Linked DNA regions of Homo sapiens: region 2 is linked to region 1. The links are contacts of gene promoters, found by promoter capture Hi-C in blood cells and fetal thymus (Javierre and others, 2016). All regions are on one chromosome and are shown on one strand. The core of a region is centred on a gene start or on the middle of the fragment in contact, and the rest is flanking DNA. Distances in the headings are between cores, read along the strand shown.

What was found. Contacts are between HindIII fragments. The CHiCAGO score rates a contact against its expected background, and 5 or more counts as called.
Region 2: a fragment that was not itself captured here is called in contact with the fragment with the promoter of LAP3 in region 1 in 2 of 17 cell types (naive CD4 T cells and total B cells); the score reaches 5.7 in naive CD4 T cells.

The regions. Positions count from the first base shown.
Region 1 is chr4:17,571,147-17,578,447 of GRCh38, reverse strand. It overlaps LAP3 (leucine aminopeptidase 3), which reads right to left and starts at 1,250. Exons shown (of 13, transcript NM_015907.3): 1 at 881-1,250. The coding sequence starts at 982. RefSeq lists enhancers at 703-902, 1,243-1,602 and a silencer at 973-1,182. The HindIII fragment of the contact is 2,285 bases long and covers 268-2,552 here.
Region 2 is chr4:17,637,776-17,645,447 of GRCh38, reverse strand. FAM184B (family with sequence similarity 184 member B) reads left to right here. Exons shown (of 18, transcript NM_015688.2): 13 at 3,220-3,392; 14 at 6,052-6,198. Among named protein-coding and RNA genes, the nearest start is that of MED28, 27 kb to the right of the region's middle. The HindIII fragment of the contact is 1,854 bases long and covers 2,823-4,676 here.

The DNA.
Region 1 (7,301 bases), core at 1-2,500:
CACCAAAGAAAACGGCCTTCCTTGGCATTGGTAACTCTGCCAGGTTCTAACTTCCCTAAGATTGTTCACTCCCCGGGAATCAATGGAGCCAACTGAGCAACTGTTATCTGGGTAGGCTGTGGCACAGTACTGGAGATAGCACTGGTCAGGCGACTGGTCCCTCCACCACTGAGATACCTGCAGGAGACTGGAGCTCAAGCTCCCCCTAGAACGTTCTTCTGCAGGGACAGTCATCTCTTTCTGGTGCTTAGGCATGACTCCCAAGCTTGTGCTGGTTCCGAGAGCCATTCCCTTTGCAGATCCTTCACATCTGAAGAGCGACCTTCGTAATTTTTTGGAGTTCACTTTTCTTCTGGAAGATGCTCTTAATTCTGGGAAACGTGGGTCTCTCCCCAAAGCCCTTTTCTCTAGAGAGGCATGCTTTTCCTCTAGAAACCCTTCCAAGCTACTTAACTCCCTGACCTTTCACTTCCGCGGGGGAAGGAGCCCTGTGACTCTGGGACCTCAGAAACCCTTTCACCTTGGCAAACTCGGGCTTCCTCCAAGCTCGGATGGGAGCCCCACCGCCGCGTCTTTCCCCGGGTTACTGCCAGGACCGCGGGTGACGACTGGAGCAAGTGCGCGGCCGAGTGGAGCCGGGTAAAGGGCGGCTACAACCATCACCCCCTAGCCCCGAGCAGGGGAATCGCGCCCTCAATACGACCGCTGGGGTCCTCAGCGGCCTAGGCCGATCCCCGCAAGGAGAGAATTTTTCTTTTAAACTGATTTTTGCAACTTGGCTTGGGCGCCCAGGACACCGCGGCTTCGACCAGCCCCGCAGCCCCAGTAGCCCACGGGCAGGGCCCCAGCGGCGGACCATGAGCGAGCCGCCGCCTCTCACCTTCGTCATGTCTGCGGTGGAGAGACTCCGGCTCCCGAAACGTCTCACGGCCAGACGTCGGACGACTACTCGCCCCGCAGCCGGAAGAGGCAGCAAGAACATCTTGTCGGCTCGGCCCCTCGCACCGCCCTCCAGCGAGCACGTGGAGAGCGGTGGGCGGGCGCGCCTTGGGGCGGGGCTTTCGGGGCGCAGACGGCGTGCGCGCGGACTGGCTCGGGCGCCGGGCGAGCGGACGTGCGTCTAGGGGGCGGGACGGATGGGCAGCACCGGCCGACTGGACCGCTGGGATCAAACCGCGGTTGTGGAGGGGACTCAAGGGTGCGCCCGCATTCGTGTGCGCCCGCATTCGTGTGCGCCCGCATTCGTGTGCGCCCGCGCATGCGGGCGGGGGCGAAAAGGCGGGGCTTCCGGACGCGGTTGACAGTCCCGGGAGCAACGCGAAGTAGAGGGGCGGGACCGATATGGTGACGTCACACGATGGGTGGGGCGGAGGCGGGGCGAGTTCTGCAAGCGGGCGTGGGCGGAGCGCTGGGCAACTCCCGGGAAATAGAAACTGAGTGCCAGAGCTTGTTGTCAAGGTTGCTGAATAGACGACTGCATAGTGAAGACACTCCCACTGAGTTTTCGTTTGTTTGTTTGGTTTTTTTGAGTCGGAGTCTCGCTCTGTCACCCAGGTTGGAGTGCAATGGAGCGATCTCGGCTCACTGCAACCTCCCGCTGCTTAGTTGAAACGATTCTCCTGCCTCGTCCTCCCGAGTAGCTGGGATTAGGGGCGCCCGCCACCACGCCCAGCTAATCTTTGTGTTTTTTTGTTGTTTTTTTGGATTTTTTTTTTGAGGCGGAGTCTCGCTCTTGTAGCCCTGGCTGGAGTGCAGTGGCGCAATCTCGGCTCACTGCAACCTCCGCCTTTCGGGTTCAACAGATTCTCCTGCCTCAGCCTCCCGAGTAGTTGGGACTACAGGCGCCCACCACCACACCTGGCTAATCTTTGTATTTTTAGTAGAGACAGTGTTTGGCCATGTTAGCCAGGCTGGCTTTGAACTCCTGACCTCTGGTGATACACCCGCCTCAGCCTGCCAAAGTGCTGGGATTACTTACAGGCGTGAGCCACCGTGCCCGGCAACTCTTTGTATTTTTAGTAGAGACGAGGTTTCACCATGTTGTCCAGGCTGGTCTCGAAGTCCTGACCTCGTGATCCACTTGCCTCGGCCTCGCTAAGTGCTGGGATTACAGGCGTGAGCCACCGCACCTGGCCTGAGTTATTTTTATTCGTGTCCTTTCATCTGTTCCACAGGTGCAACGGTGTAAATACTGTTTTTGAAAATGATGTAACACTATTAGGTTCGTTGACTCGTGCACATAGCAAGTCAATACGCCCAGACACCAGGGTTGCAGCAGAGAAAGAGGTGTAATCGTGGAGTCGCCAAAGGAGGAGATGGGAGGAAACCTCAAATCCATCTCCCTGAGGAATTTGGGGTCAAGGTTTTTAAGGGTTTTGGAGAGGGCTATAGTGTGGAGATCGTTGATTGAAGAGTGCAGGGTGAAGTCATGGGACAGGGCGTTGAAGAACCTGTATTCTTAAGCTGACCCCATTCCTCTCTGGGGATCTTCAAACTGGTAGCTGGAATTCAAGGTCTGAAAAATATCTTAAGCGATCCTTAAACAGAAAGCTTATGATTCTAATGTCAGAGATCCTGTCTATAGGAACAATGGGAATGCAAATGGTCAGTATGTAGTGCTAGGTGACTTTTAGCAACAAGGAAGTGGGCCAAAGTACAGCCTGATTAATGCTTAATTATAACTATATTTCTGCCTAGAACTTGGCATGAAATTTTTGTCAACACAGTGGGGATGGTTTCAATAGAAAGTTTTCAAGTAGTGCTCAATATTTTTATATATTTTTATTTTCTGTAAAGCGTTTTGTTTTTTTTAATTCCTTATTTTTTACTTTTTTTTTTTTAACGGAGTCTTGCTCTGTCACCCAGGCTGGAGTGCACTGGTGTGATCTCAGCTTATTGCAACCTCCACCCCTGGGTTCCAGCGATTCTCCTGCCTCAGCCTCCCAAGTAGTTGGGATTACAGGCGCCCGCCAACACGCCTGGCTAATTTTTGTATTTTCAGTAGAGATGGAGTTTCACCATGTTGGCCAGGTGGGTCTTGAAGTACTGACCTCAAGTGATCCACCCGCCCTGGCCTCCCAAATTGCTGGGATTACGGGCGTGAACCACCGCGCCCGGCTGGTTTTAAATTTCTCATTGTAAAAAAGTACACAGCTGAATGCAACTCGGAGAATATGGGTAAGCACGAGGAGGGATACAAAAATTGTTCTTAATAATGACACCAGCCAGCTGGGTGCAGTGACTCATGCTTATAATCCCAGGACTTTGGGAGGCCGAGGTGGGAGGATCGACTCAGCCCAGGAGTTCAAGACCACCCTGGGCAAGGTAGTGAGATACCCATCTCTACAAAAAGTTAAAAAATTAGCCAGATGTGTGCCTGTAGTCCCGCTAATGGGGAGACTGAGGTAGGAGGTTTGCTTGAGCCTGGGAGGTTGAGTCTGCAGTGAGCCATAATTGTACTACTACACTCCAGCTTAGGTCACAGAGCAAGACCCCATCTCTTTTTAAAAAAATTACACCACTGTTGATCTGATTGCAATTTTAGCTGAGGTGCAGGGGTGTGGGGAGGCTTACACCAGCTGCAGTGAGCAAAGTCTTCACCTTGAGCTCAGTTGCAGGAAAGAAAGAATGTCTATTTCACTCTCCAAGAGCTAGACACTCCAGAGGAGAGATTTGATCTTCCTCTCTTGAAGGCTGAGTGGGTTGGACTGGTAGGTCCACTCTGGCTTCCACCTTCTCTAGATAGTTAAAATGGAGTTGCATCATAAACTCAATAAACTCACCAAATTTTATCTATATTTGCTCCAAAGACAGCGAAATCTTTACATTCACTTTACAGCTCTTCCCTCCTTCCAACGTGATAGATCAGGCCGCAGTTTCTGAAACTAAAAAATGGAATGCGAAAACCTGTCCCCTCCTTGGTATGTGAGTAGAGGGTCTCTGAGCTTCAGAGGCATCCAAGCCTCAGAGCTGTAGGTTACCCTTGTCTGTATCTGCTCAGCTGAATTTATTACCTGTTTTATTGACTTGCGGGTCCAGCCTGAGACTCTGGTGTATCATTTACTTTTCTCTTTGCTTCAAGGACCACACCATTTACATTTTCACATGCCTAATGGTACAAAAGAAAAGTACATTTCACAGTCTACAAATAATCAGGATTGTGGATCACTTTGGGATGAAAGATTTAGTCATCCTTCAAACCCTAAGTTTACAAGGTGCTTAAGATGTTTTTCTGTTAGAAATCATGGGATAAAAAAGAATCTAAAACAGTGTCCCTGTCTTCAAGGATTTTATTATTGTAGAGGGGGCAAAACTTAACCTCTACCATCTTAGGGTCTCCAGCTGGGCCTGAGAATTAAGTTGACATAAGACAGATTAACGAGAAAAACATATTAATTGGCTGGGCACAGTGGCTCACACCTGTAATCCCAGCTCTTTGGGAGGCCAAGGCAGGTGGATCGCTTGAGCCCAGGAGTTCGAGACCAGCCTGGGCAACATGGCAAAACCCTGTCTGTACAAAAAATACAAAAAAAACAGCCATATGTGGTGGTGCATGCTTGTAGTGCCAGCTGCTCGGGAGACTGAGGTAGGAGGATCACTTGAACCTGGGAGATTGAGGCTTCAGTGAGGCATGATTGTGCCAGTGCACTCCAGCCTGGGTAACAGAATGAGACCCTGTCTCAAAAAATAATAATAATCATATATATATATATATATACACACACACACACACACACACACACACATATAAATTTTATTTAATAGTTTTGCACGTACTTGGAAGCCCTTACAGGAAAATCGAGACCCCCCAAAATGGTTAGGCCTAAGTGCTCATATACTAGGTTGAACAAAAATAGTAATTTTGAAAAAGTATATTTATATGGGAAAACTAAAGGAAATAAAGGTTAGTCTAACAAGAGTTGTTTGTACAGATTTCTCTCGGCCTTGACTCTCCCTCTTTGGTGATAATGTTCCTTTCTTTCTGGTGCAGGGAGGGCAGCATTCACATGAGAGCTGATCTCCTGCTTTCAGGAAGTAAAGAGAGGCCAGAGTACCCTTCTTGCATCTGCTGTATTTTAAGTGCCTTTAGCTCAAAAAAATCTTTATGTCAAAGTTTTATATTCTGCTGTCCTCTATTATCTAGTAGAGGCAAGAGATATGGTGATTGTAAAAATATTGTTATAAAAAAAGAAAAGGCAGTGTTTCACAGAGTTATATGTGCATATGCTCCTGTTCCTTCTGCTCCCTTCTTTGCTTGACCAATGCCACTTCTTCCAAGAAATACTTGCTGACCTTCCCTGTCTGGGTTATGTGCCCTCCCTCTGCTCCCAAAGCGACCTGTCTCAAAGTGCCAATCACCTGTATTCTTGCAACTGTTCAATGGGTTCTCCTTGCCCGCTGCCTAAACAGAGCCAATTTATCAAGACAAGGAATTTGCAACAGAAAAAGAGTTTAATTCACACAGAGCTGGCTGTATGGAAAACCACAGTTTTATTATTACTCAAGTCAATCTCCATGAAAATTTGGGGTTCAGAGTTTTTAAGGATAATTTGGTGGGTAGTGGGTCAGAAAGTGAGAAGCGCTGAGCTGGGTGCCGTGGCTGATGCCTGTAATCCTAGCACTTTGGGAGGCCAAGGCGGGCGGATCACCTGAGGTCAGGAGTTCAAGACCAGCCTGGTTCAATATGGTGAAACCCTGTCTGTACTAAAAATACAAAAATTGCCAGGCGCAGTGGCTCACGCCTGTAATCCCGGCACTTTGGGAGGCCGAGGCAGGTGGATCACGAGGTCAGAAGATCAAGACTATCCTGGCTAACACGGTGAAACCCCGTCTCTACTAAAAGTACAAAAAAAAAATTAGCTGGGCGTGGTGGCAGGCGCCTGTAGTCCCAGCTACTCGGGGAGGCTGAGGCAGGACAATGACATGAACCCAGGAGGCGGAGCTTGCAGTAAGCCGAGATTGCGCCACTGCACTCCAGCCTGGGCAACAGAGCGAGACTCCATCTCAAAACAAACAAAAAAAATAAAAAAATTAGTGGGCTGTGGTGGTGCACGCCTGTAATCCCAGCTACTGGGGGAGCTGAGGCAGGAGAATTCGCCTGAACCCGGGAGGCGGAGATTGCAGTGAGCCGAGATTGCACCGCTGCACTCCAGCCTGGGCAACAGAGTGAGACTCTATCTCAAAAAAAAAAAAAAAAAGAAAGAAAGAAAGCAGCAGCAGCAGCAGCAGCAAGATGGAATCAGCTAGGGCAGCAAGATGGAATCAGTTATGTCAGATCTCTTTTGCTGTTATAATTTTATTTTTCTTTATTTTTTTTCTTTTTTTTTGAGATAGAGTGTCACTCTTGTCGCCCAGGCTGCAGTGCAGTGGCGCGATCTTGGCTCACTGCAGCCTCCACCTCCCAGATTCAAGTGCTTCTCCTGCCTCAGCCTCCCCCAGGTAGCTGGACTACAGGCATGTGCCACCACGCCCGGCTAATTTTCTGTATTTTTAGTAGAGACAGGGTTTCACCATGTTAGCCAGGATGATCTCGATCTCCTGACTTCGTGATCCGCCTGCCTTGGCCTCCCAACGTGCTGGGATTACAGGCGTCAGCCACCGCTCCCGGCCTGCTGTCATAATATTCTTAGTTATAGTATTTGCAAAGGTGGTTTCATTCTCATTGTCTTTTTCCCCCCACTCATCTAGGGAGCCATGCCTTTTTCATCTCTGCATAGCCAGTGCCTAGATCTAGCATTTAGACTGTCCCTGGAACGAATGCAAGGTGCTCATAATATGTTTGAATGAATTCATGATCAAGGTCTAGTGCAGGTAGCATCTATAATTAAAGAACAGAATAGGTGCTATGTGTGGCTTTCAGATAGTAGAAGCAAAAACAAAAAGAAAGCTTGAAAGGAGCCAGCAGAATGAGAATGCTATAGATGATTGAGGGGACGTCTGGGTCAGGAGAATGTGTGGGAGGGCGTTGGCTTGGCTTGGGGTGGAGAGATCAGGCCTGCCTGGAATAAGAGGTGGTTATACAAAGACAGTGATGCTGGATTAAAGGGAATCTTGAAAGGCAGGAAGAGATGTTTATTGTGGTTGTGGGAGTCAATAGACACTCTTTGCAGAAGCTGGTGGGGTGGTGAAAGCTATATTTTACTATGATTGGTAGACGCTGGAGTCAAGGGTGGAGAAAGACTGAGCAGTGTTGGGAAGAGTGGTGCCTTAGTGAAAACCAATGCATCATCCAGAGAAACCCTTTTTTTAGAGACAGGATCTGGCTCTATTGCCCAGGCTGGAGTGCAGTGGCACAATCATAG
Region 2 (7,672 bases), core at 2,500-4,999, 65 kb before region 1:
CAAAGATCAGATAGTTGCAGATATGTGGTATTATTTCTGAGGGCTCTGTTGTGTTCCATTGGTCTATATCTCTGTTTTGGTACCAGTACCATGCTGTTTTGGTTACTGTGGCCTTGTAGTATAGTTTGAAGTCAGGTAGCATGATGCCTCCAGCTTTGTTCTTTTGGCTTAGGATTGACTTGGCGACGCAGGCTCTTTTTTGGATCCATATGAACTTTAGTTTTTTCCAATTCTGTGAAGAAAGTCATTGGTAGCTCGATGGGGATGGCATTGAATCTATAAATTACCTTGGGCAGTATAGCCATTTTCACAATATTGATTCTTCCTATCCATGAGCATGGAATGTTCTTCCATTTGTTTGTATCCTCTTTTATTTTGTTGAGCAGTGGTTTGTAGTTCTTGAAGAGATCCTAAACATCCCTTGTAAGTTGGATTCCTAGGTATTTTATTCTCTTTGAAGCAATTGTGAATGGGAGTTCACTCATGATTTGGCTCTCTGTTTGTCTGTTATTGGTGTATAAGAATGCTTGTGATTTTTGCACATTGATTTTGTATCCTGAGACTTTGCTGAAGTTGCTTATCAGCTTAAGGAGGTTTTGGGCTGAGACAATGGGGTTTTCTAGATATACAATCATGTCGTCTGCAAACAGGGACAATTTGACTTCCTCTTTTCCTAATTGAATACCCCTTCTTTCTCCTGCCTGATTACCGTGGCCAGAACTTCCAACACTATGTTGAATAGGAGTGGTGAGAGAGGGCATCCCTATCTTGTCCCAGTTTTCAAAGGGAATGCTTCCAGTTTTTGCCCATTCAGTATATGATATTGGCTGTGGGTTTGTCATAAATAGCTCTTATTATTTTGAGATACATCTCATCAATACCTAATTTATTGAGAGTTTTTAGCATGAAGGGCTGTTGAATTTTGTCAAAGGCCTTTTCTGCATCTATTGAGATAATCATGTGGTTTTTGTCGTTGGTTCTGTTTATATGCTGGATTATGTTTATTGATTTGTGTATATTGAACCAGCCTTGCATCCCAGGGATGAAGCCCACTTGATCATGGTGGATAAGCTTTTTGATGTGCTGCTGGATTTGGTTTGCCAGTCTTTTATTGAGGATTTTTACATCAATGTTCATCAGGGATATTGGTCTAAAGTTCTCTTTTTTTGTTGTGTCTCTGCCAGGCTTTGGTATTAGGATGACCAGCATCACTTTTCATAAAGCCTTTGGTGGTTCCCATTGGAGAAAGCTCCAAATGCTTCAACTTGGCATTGAAAAGCTTCCACCACTGATTATGACCTGTATGTCCTGCCATATTCCCTGCGGCTCATAAACCCGGCATCTGCACCCTCCCTTTGGCCTTCGCCTGTGCCACTCCTCCTGCCTGAGATGCTGCCCAGCATATCTCATGCTGGGGGCCTTCCCTGGCACACAGTGGCCCCCTCTGGCTCTGAGATCCTGGAGCACTTGTTGTCAAGACAGCTCAGCTGGCTCTAGGATCTACCGCCCGGTCCTGTTGGGGACATGCCATTTCATAGATGTCCTTGTTGCCTAGACTGGATCAGGAGTCTTTTGAGGATAACCTGTCTGCCTGCCTCATCGCCTCCCCACCCCCACTCCCAGCCCTCAGCAGGGTCTCCACCAGTGCCTGTGGGTGGTGAGGATTCATTGGTGGCCAGTCCTGCTGAAGGACCGGGGGACATGGGAATCATGTGTGCCAGATTTAGCTGTTGCTGAGCATAGGAAGGCAATTTCTGTGTTTATGTGAAAAATATTAACAAATGATGAATCACAGGTTAGCCCAGTGGTTAGGTCTAGCAGAGGGAAGACAGAACGTGTTCCATTAAGTGTTTAGATGGGTGGGAGCCACTGGTACCAATGGGAGGGGACGGGAAATGTGGGATGGAGACAGCTGGGGACTGGGCCATGGAGGGAGTCAGTGTTCACCTGAGGGCTCTGGATAGAAGCCAAGGAGCACTGAGTACATGAGCCGATACGTGGCCACCCATGCACCAGCCCTCACCTTTGCCCCATAGGAGGGAAGCCCTGAACCCTCTAGAAGGAAAGTGTGGTCTCAGGTGATACCCCACACAGAGAGGAGATGCAGGGGTGTCGGCAAAGAGGAACAGCCCAGGCAGCAGGAGTCAAAAAGGAAAGGGGAGGGGACACAATGCCAGGCTGCAGGCCCAAGCTGGCCACCGCTGAGCTAAGTGGAGTCTGTCCTACTGGGATCTAATTCTCATATCTCTCCCACCCAGAGACCCAAGAGGGGAATGCATTTTTCCATCTGTTTCTGTCCTCCATTGGTCAAGGATTGTCCCCACAGAGCAGTAACCCCCCTGCTCTTGCTCTTCCAGGCTATGCATGTGAGAGTGCCAAGTGGGTGCCCACGGGCATCCCACATCATGCCAACCCCAGAGCAGGAAGGCAGAGACATGGGGCCTGGGCCACAGATTCTCCCCGTGCACAGCTGTGCAATTACTGTGTGCAGTGAACTAATACATGCACAAGTGGTCGGGCATGTTTGAGTGAATTTGAAAACTGGAACATTCACTAATCACAGATTAAATCTGACTCCATTTGCTGTTGGACAGCAATTTTTGTGTTTCTACCTGAACTACAGACATTCTAGCACAATTCTGTTTAGCAAGCATTCACGTGGCACCTATAGAATACACCAGGCTAGGTGCTACAGGGTTGGAAAGATGAAGAGAGGAATAGCTCCCAATCTAGCCAAGGAAACCAGCATGGACACATATTCTCTTCAGTGTCACCCCTTACAGAGCCAGAGTTAGCAAGATTTGGTGGTATTAGAGAAAGCTTATCAGTTCCCCCTGAGAGGTAGGGAAGACTTCACTGAGGCAGTATCACTTCACTGAACACTTAACTTCACGGAGGGAAGACTTCACTGAGGCAGGCATGGAGGGCACCCTGGCAGGTGGAGTGTGGAGTGTGGTTGGTGTTCATTTGGATGCAAGACCCATTCTTAGCTCAGCAGTTTTATTAAACTCTAAGGGCCAGATTTGGCCAACTCCCAAAGGAGGAAATTTTTTAAGAGACTAGATGGGAGTCCCTGCAGGGAACTCAGGAGCCTGCCACAGGCTCCAGCCTGGGCGGGGTGCCAGTGGGTCTCCATCTCGCCGCAGCACATCTCTGGCCCTTTCTGCCTTGTCTGCCCCTGCGCCTCCTGAAAACACCTCTCCTGGTTGCCTTCCTCAGGAGCGGGGCGGCCCGGGCCAGGCCGGCTCCCCACCGGGCGCTGCTGGGCAGGGTTCCGGCGAGGGATGCGGGCTCTGGGAGGAGAACGCGCAGCTCCAGGACGCGGTGCGGCGGCTGCGCGCGGAGGTGGAGCAGCATCAGCAGGAGGCGCAGAAGCTCCGAGACCAGCGCAGGTGGGTGACCCGGCGCGCCCCGCCACCGCGCCACCCTCACCCCCTACCCCGCCACCCCCCCTCCCCCTACTGCGGCTGGCTGAGCCTGAGACCTGAAATGGGTCACTGCCTCGGCATCCTGCCCCACAAGACACTAGACACTGAATGCGCCAGCATTTCACAGATGTTACTCCTCTGACCCATGAAAAGTCCCAGAGCTCCAGAAATTCTGGATCTCAAAACCGCAGAGGAAGTGCCTTGAAATAAAAGAGGGAGTCTGGCTGGGCGCGGTGGCTCACGCCTGTAATCCCAGCACTTTGGTTGGCAGAGGCGGGCGCATCACGAGGTCAGGAATTCGAGACCAGCCTGGACAACATGATGAAACCCTGTCTCCACTAAAAATACAAAAAAAAAAAAAAAAAAAAAAAAAAAAGGCCGGGCGTGGTGGTGTGTGCCTGTAATCCCAGTTATTCGGGAGGCTGAGGCAGGAAAATCGCGTGAACTCGGGAGGACCAGGTTGCAGTGAGCCAAGATCGCGCCATTGCACTCCAGCCTGGGCGACAATGCAAGACTCCGTCTCAAAAAAAAAAAAAAAAAAAAAAAAAAAAAAAAAAAGAGGGAGTCCTGTTTGTTTCCCTGCAAATCAGGGCATTTATGAGACTGAGAATTGGACCAAAAGTGTCATCAAATCCAACCTTACGGAGACGGTGTAGTGGAATAGTTCAGACCATGCGGTGTCTTCTTAACTAGCTGTGCGCTCTTAATTAGCTGTGTGAGGTTGGGTGAGTTAGCTGACCTCTCCCAGACTGAGTCCTCTGTAAAATGGGGATAAGACTCCAGCCTCGGCTGGCGTGGTAGCTCACGCCTGTAATACCAGTACTTTGGGAGGCTGAGGCAGGCACATCACTTGAGGTCAGGAGTCCAAGACCAGCCTGGGCAACATAGTGAAACCCCGTCTCTACTAAAAATAGAAAAATTGGCCAAGCGTGGTGGTGCATGCCTGCAGTCCCGGCTACTCGGGAGGTTGGTGAGGGGGGATTGCTTGAGCCTGGGAGGTGGAGGTTGCACTGAGTTGAGATCGGGCCACTGCACTTCAGCCTGGGCGGCAGAGCCACAATCTGTCTCAAAAAACAAAACAAACAAAACAAAAAACCTGGCCTGTCAGGGCTGTTGTAGAGTGCAATGGAATGTGTGCAGGAGGCTTGGCATGTCCCTAGCATGAATGAAACGCTTGGTTAATTGTAGAAGTGAAAAACCTATCATCAATCCTGAACTCAGAGCCTTTCTTCCTCTTGTTGGAAAGCTTTTAATACAAATTCAATTTCTTTAAAGACACAGGATATTTCATATTATCTATTTCTTAAGTGAGCTTTAGCAGTTTGTATCTTTCAAAGAATTCGTCTATTTCATCCAAGTTTTTGAATGTCCTAATGCCAATCATAAAATTGCTCATAATTTTTTTTGTCATTTTAATGTCTGGAGGATTCCTTTTTTTTAATATTTGTCAGCTGTGTACACTGAACCCTGTTGTGTTGGCCCAAAATTGCTTTGAGCCTTGACTGTGCTTGTTCATTTATTTTCTTTTTTTTTTTTTTGAGACAGTCTTGCTCTTTTGCCCAGGCTGGAGTGCAGTGGTGCCATCTCGGCTCACTGCAACCTCCACCTCCCAGGTTCAAGTGATTCTTCTGCCTCAGCCTCCTGAGTAGCTGGGATTACAGGCGGACACCACCATGCCCAGCTAATTTTTTTTTTTTTTTTTTGTATTTTTAGTAGAGACGAGGTTTCACCATGTTGGTCAGGCTGGTCTCGAACTCCTGTCCTCGTGATCCTCCCGCCTTGGCCTCCCAAAGTGCTGGGATTACAGATGTGAGCCACCGCACCCAGCCCAATTTAATTTTCATAACCACTTCTTTTGATAAAGGTGAGGGATAAAGATTCAGGGAGTGGCCAGGTGTGGTGGCTCACGCGTGTAATCCCAGCACTTTGGGAGGCTGAAGCGCATGGATCACCCGAGGTCAGGAGTTCGAGACTAGCCTGGCCAACATGGTGAAACCCCCCGTCTTTACTAAAAATACAAAAAATTGGCTGGGCCTGGTGCTGGGCGCCTGTAATCCCAGCCACTTGGGAGGCTGAGGCAGGAGAACTGCTTGAACCCGGGAGGTGAAGGTTGCAGTGAGCCGAGATCGTGCCATTGCACTCCACCCTGAGCAACAAGAGCAAGACTCCGTCTCAAAAAAAAAAAAAAGTTCAGGGAGGCTTTCCACTGCAGTGTAGTTGTTAGGGAAGACCTGGTCTCCCAGGTCTCAGAGTCCCAGCGTTCAGGCCATACTGATAGAGAATCTCAGCCTCTTGCCTCCCCGCCTGTCCCAAGTGAAGAGTGTGTTTTCTGGGGCTCCCCTGCAGGGCTGCTCTCCATCACTTCCACCTGAAGTCTGTCCCCATGCTCAGGTTTCTCCTTCTGAGATGGGAGGGTGCTGAGAAGGGGTCCCATAGTGGGGGTTTGTCCTGGACTCCACAACTCAAGAGACTTCAGCTCTTCTTCCCACAGGTGTCCTTAGATCACAATTTCTCCCCACCCAGATCTCCCAAACTGGGCAGCGATGAGGGAAATAAACCCCAGAGCCCAAGGGGTGCCATCCCTGGAGCTGGGCAAGCCTGGCTGTGCTTTCATCCACCACAGGTTCCTGGAGGAGACTCAGCAAGCCCAGCGGGCCAGGGAGGTGGAGACACTGCGCCAGGAACACCGGAAGGAGATGCAGGCCATGGTGGCAGATTTCAGTAGTGCCCAGGCCCAGCTCCAGGCCCGGCTGGCTGCCCTGGAAGCCGAGTAAGTGAGGCCTCGGGCCCCAGGGAGGGTCTTGCAAATGTACCATTCAGTAGGGTGGCCAACTCACCCCAATGACCCTGGGATTTCCTGGTTTTCAAATTGAAAGTCCTGGGTTCTGGCCAGGCACGGTGGCTCATGCCTGGAATCCAGCACTTTGGGAGGCTGAGGCAGGTGGATCACTTGAGCTCAGGAGATGGAGACCAGCCTGGCCAACATGGCGAAACCCCATCTCTACTGAAAATACAAAATTACAGGTGTGGTGGCACACGCCTGTAATCCCAGCTACTCTGGAGGCTGAGGCAGGAGGATCACTTGAGCCCAGGAGGCAGAGCTTTCAGTGAACGGAGATCAGGACCCTGCACTCCAGCTTCAGCAACAGAGCAAGTTCAGGGCAGGAGGCGGGGTGTGGTGGGGGGAACTAGCCAGGGGCTCATCAGTCTCCCTTCATTTTATGAGGCTATGTTCCCCTTTTCTGCAGGGCAGTGGGAATTTGTGAGGATGAGCATTGGTTTAACCCTCACACTTCGAAGAAATCAGAAGGATCAGGGCTGCTCAATTAGAATTGTTATTCCCACTGGTCCCTCATGCAAACATATTGCATTTATTCATTCAACAAATAATTGTTAAGGACCCATTGTATGCCCAGCACTGCTTTAGGCTCTGGAGTTATAGCAGGGAACAAAACAAAGACAATGCTCTCATAGGCTCACAAATTCTGCTGAGAATTCGGATAAGAAATAAGCAAACAGGCTGTGCTTGGTGGCTCATGCCTGTAATCCTAGCACTTTGCATGGCTGAGGCTTGAGCCCAGGGTGGACTGCTTGAGCCCAGGAGTTCGAGACCAGCCTGGGCAACATTGTGAAACTCCGTCTCTACAAAAAATACAAAAAAAAAATTGCTGGGCATGGTGGTGTGTGCCTATAGTCCCAGCTACTTGGAAGGCTGAGGCGGGAGGATCGTCTGAGCTCAGGAGGTTGAGGTTGCAGTGATCTGTGATTGCACCCCTGCACTCCAGCCTGGGCTACAGAGAGAGAAACTCTGTCTCAAAACAAAACAAAACAAAACAAAAAAAATAGACCCTGTCTCAAAAAAAAAAAAAAAAAAAAAAAAAAAAAGCAAACAGTTAACATCATACCAGGCGGTGAAAGTGCTGGAAGACAGGATTGGGAGTGGCAAGGGTGGGCAAAACAAGGCCTCTGTGAGGAGGTGATGTTTAAGTACAAGGAGGTGAGGGCACTCCTGAGGCATCAGTGAGAGGGAGGGTGAGTGGGAGGAGAGGAGCTGGGTGAAGGGACTCCTGCCCTGATGGGAAGGAGTTTGGATGTGTTCAGAGTGCCCTGGGAAGCCTTCACAAGGCACTGGGCAGGAGTGACATGGCCTGACTTGCCTTTTCACAGGGTCACTTCTGACTGCTGAGAAGAAACAGGGGGAGGGGGTGACTAGCAAGACCATTTAGGATGTGATGGCAGCAAGC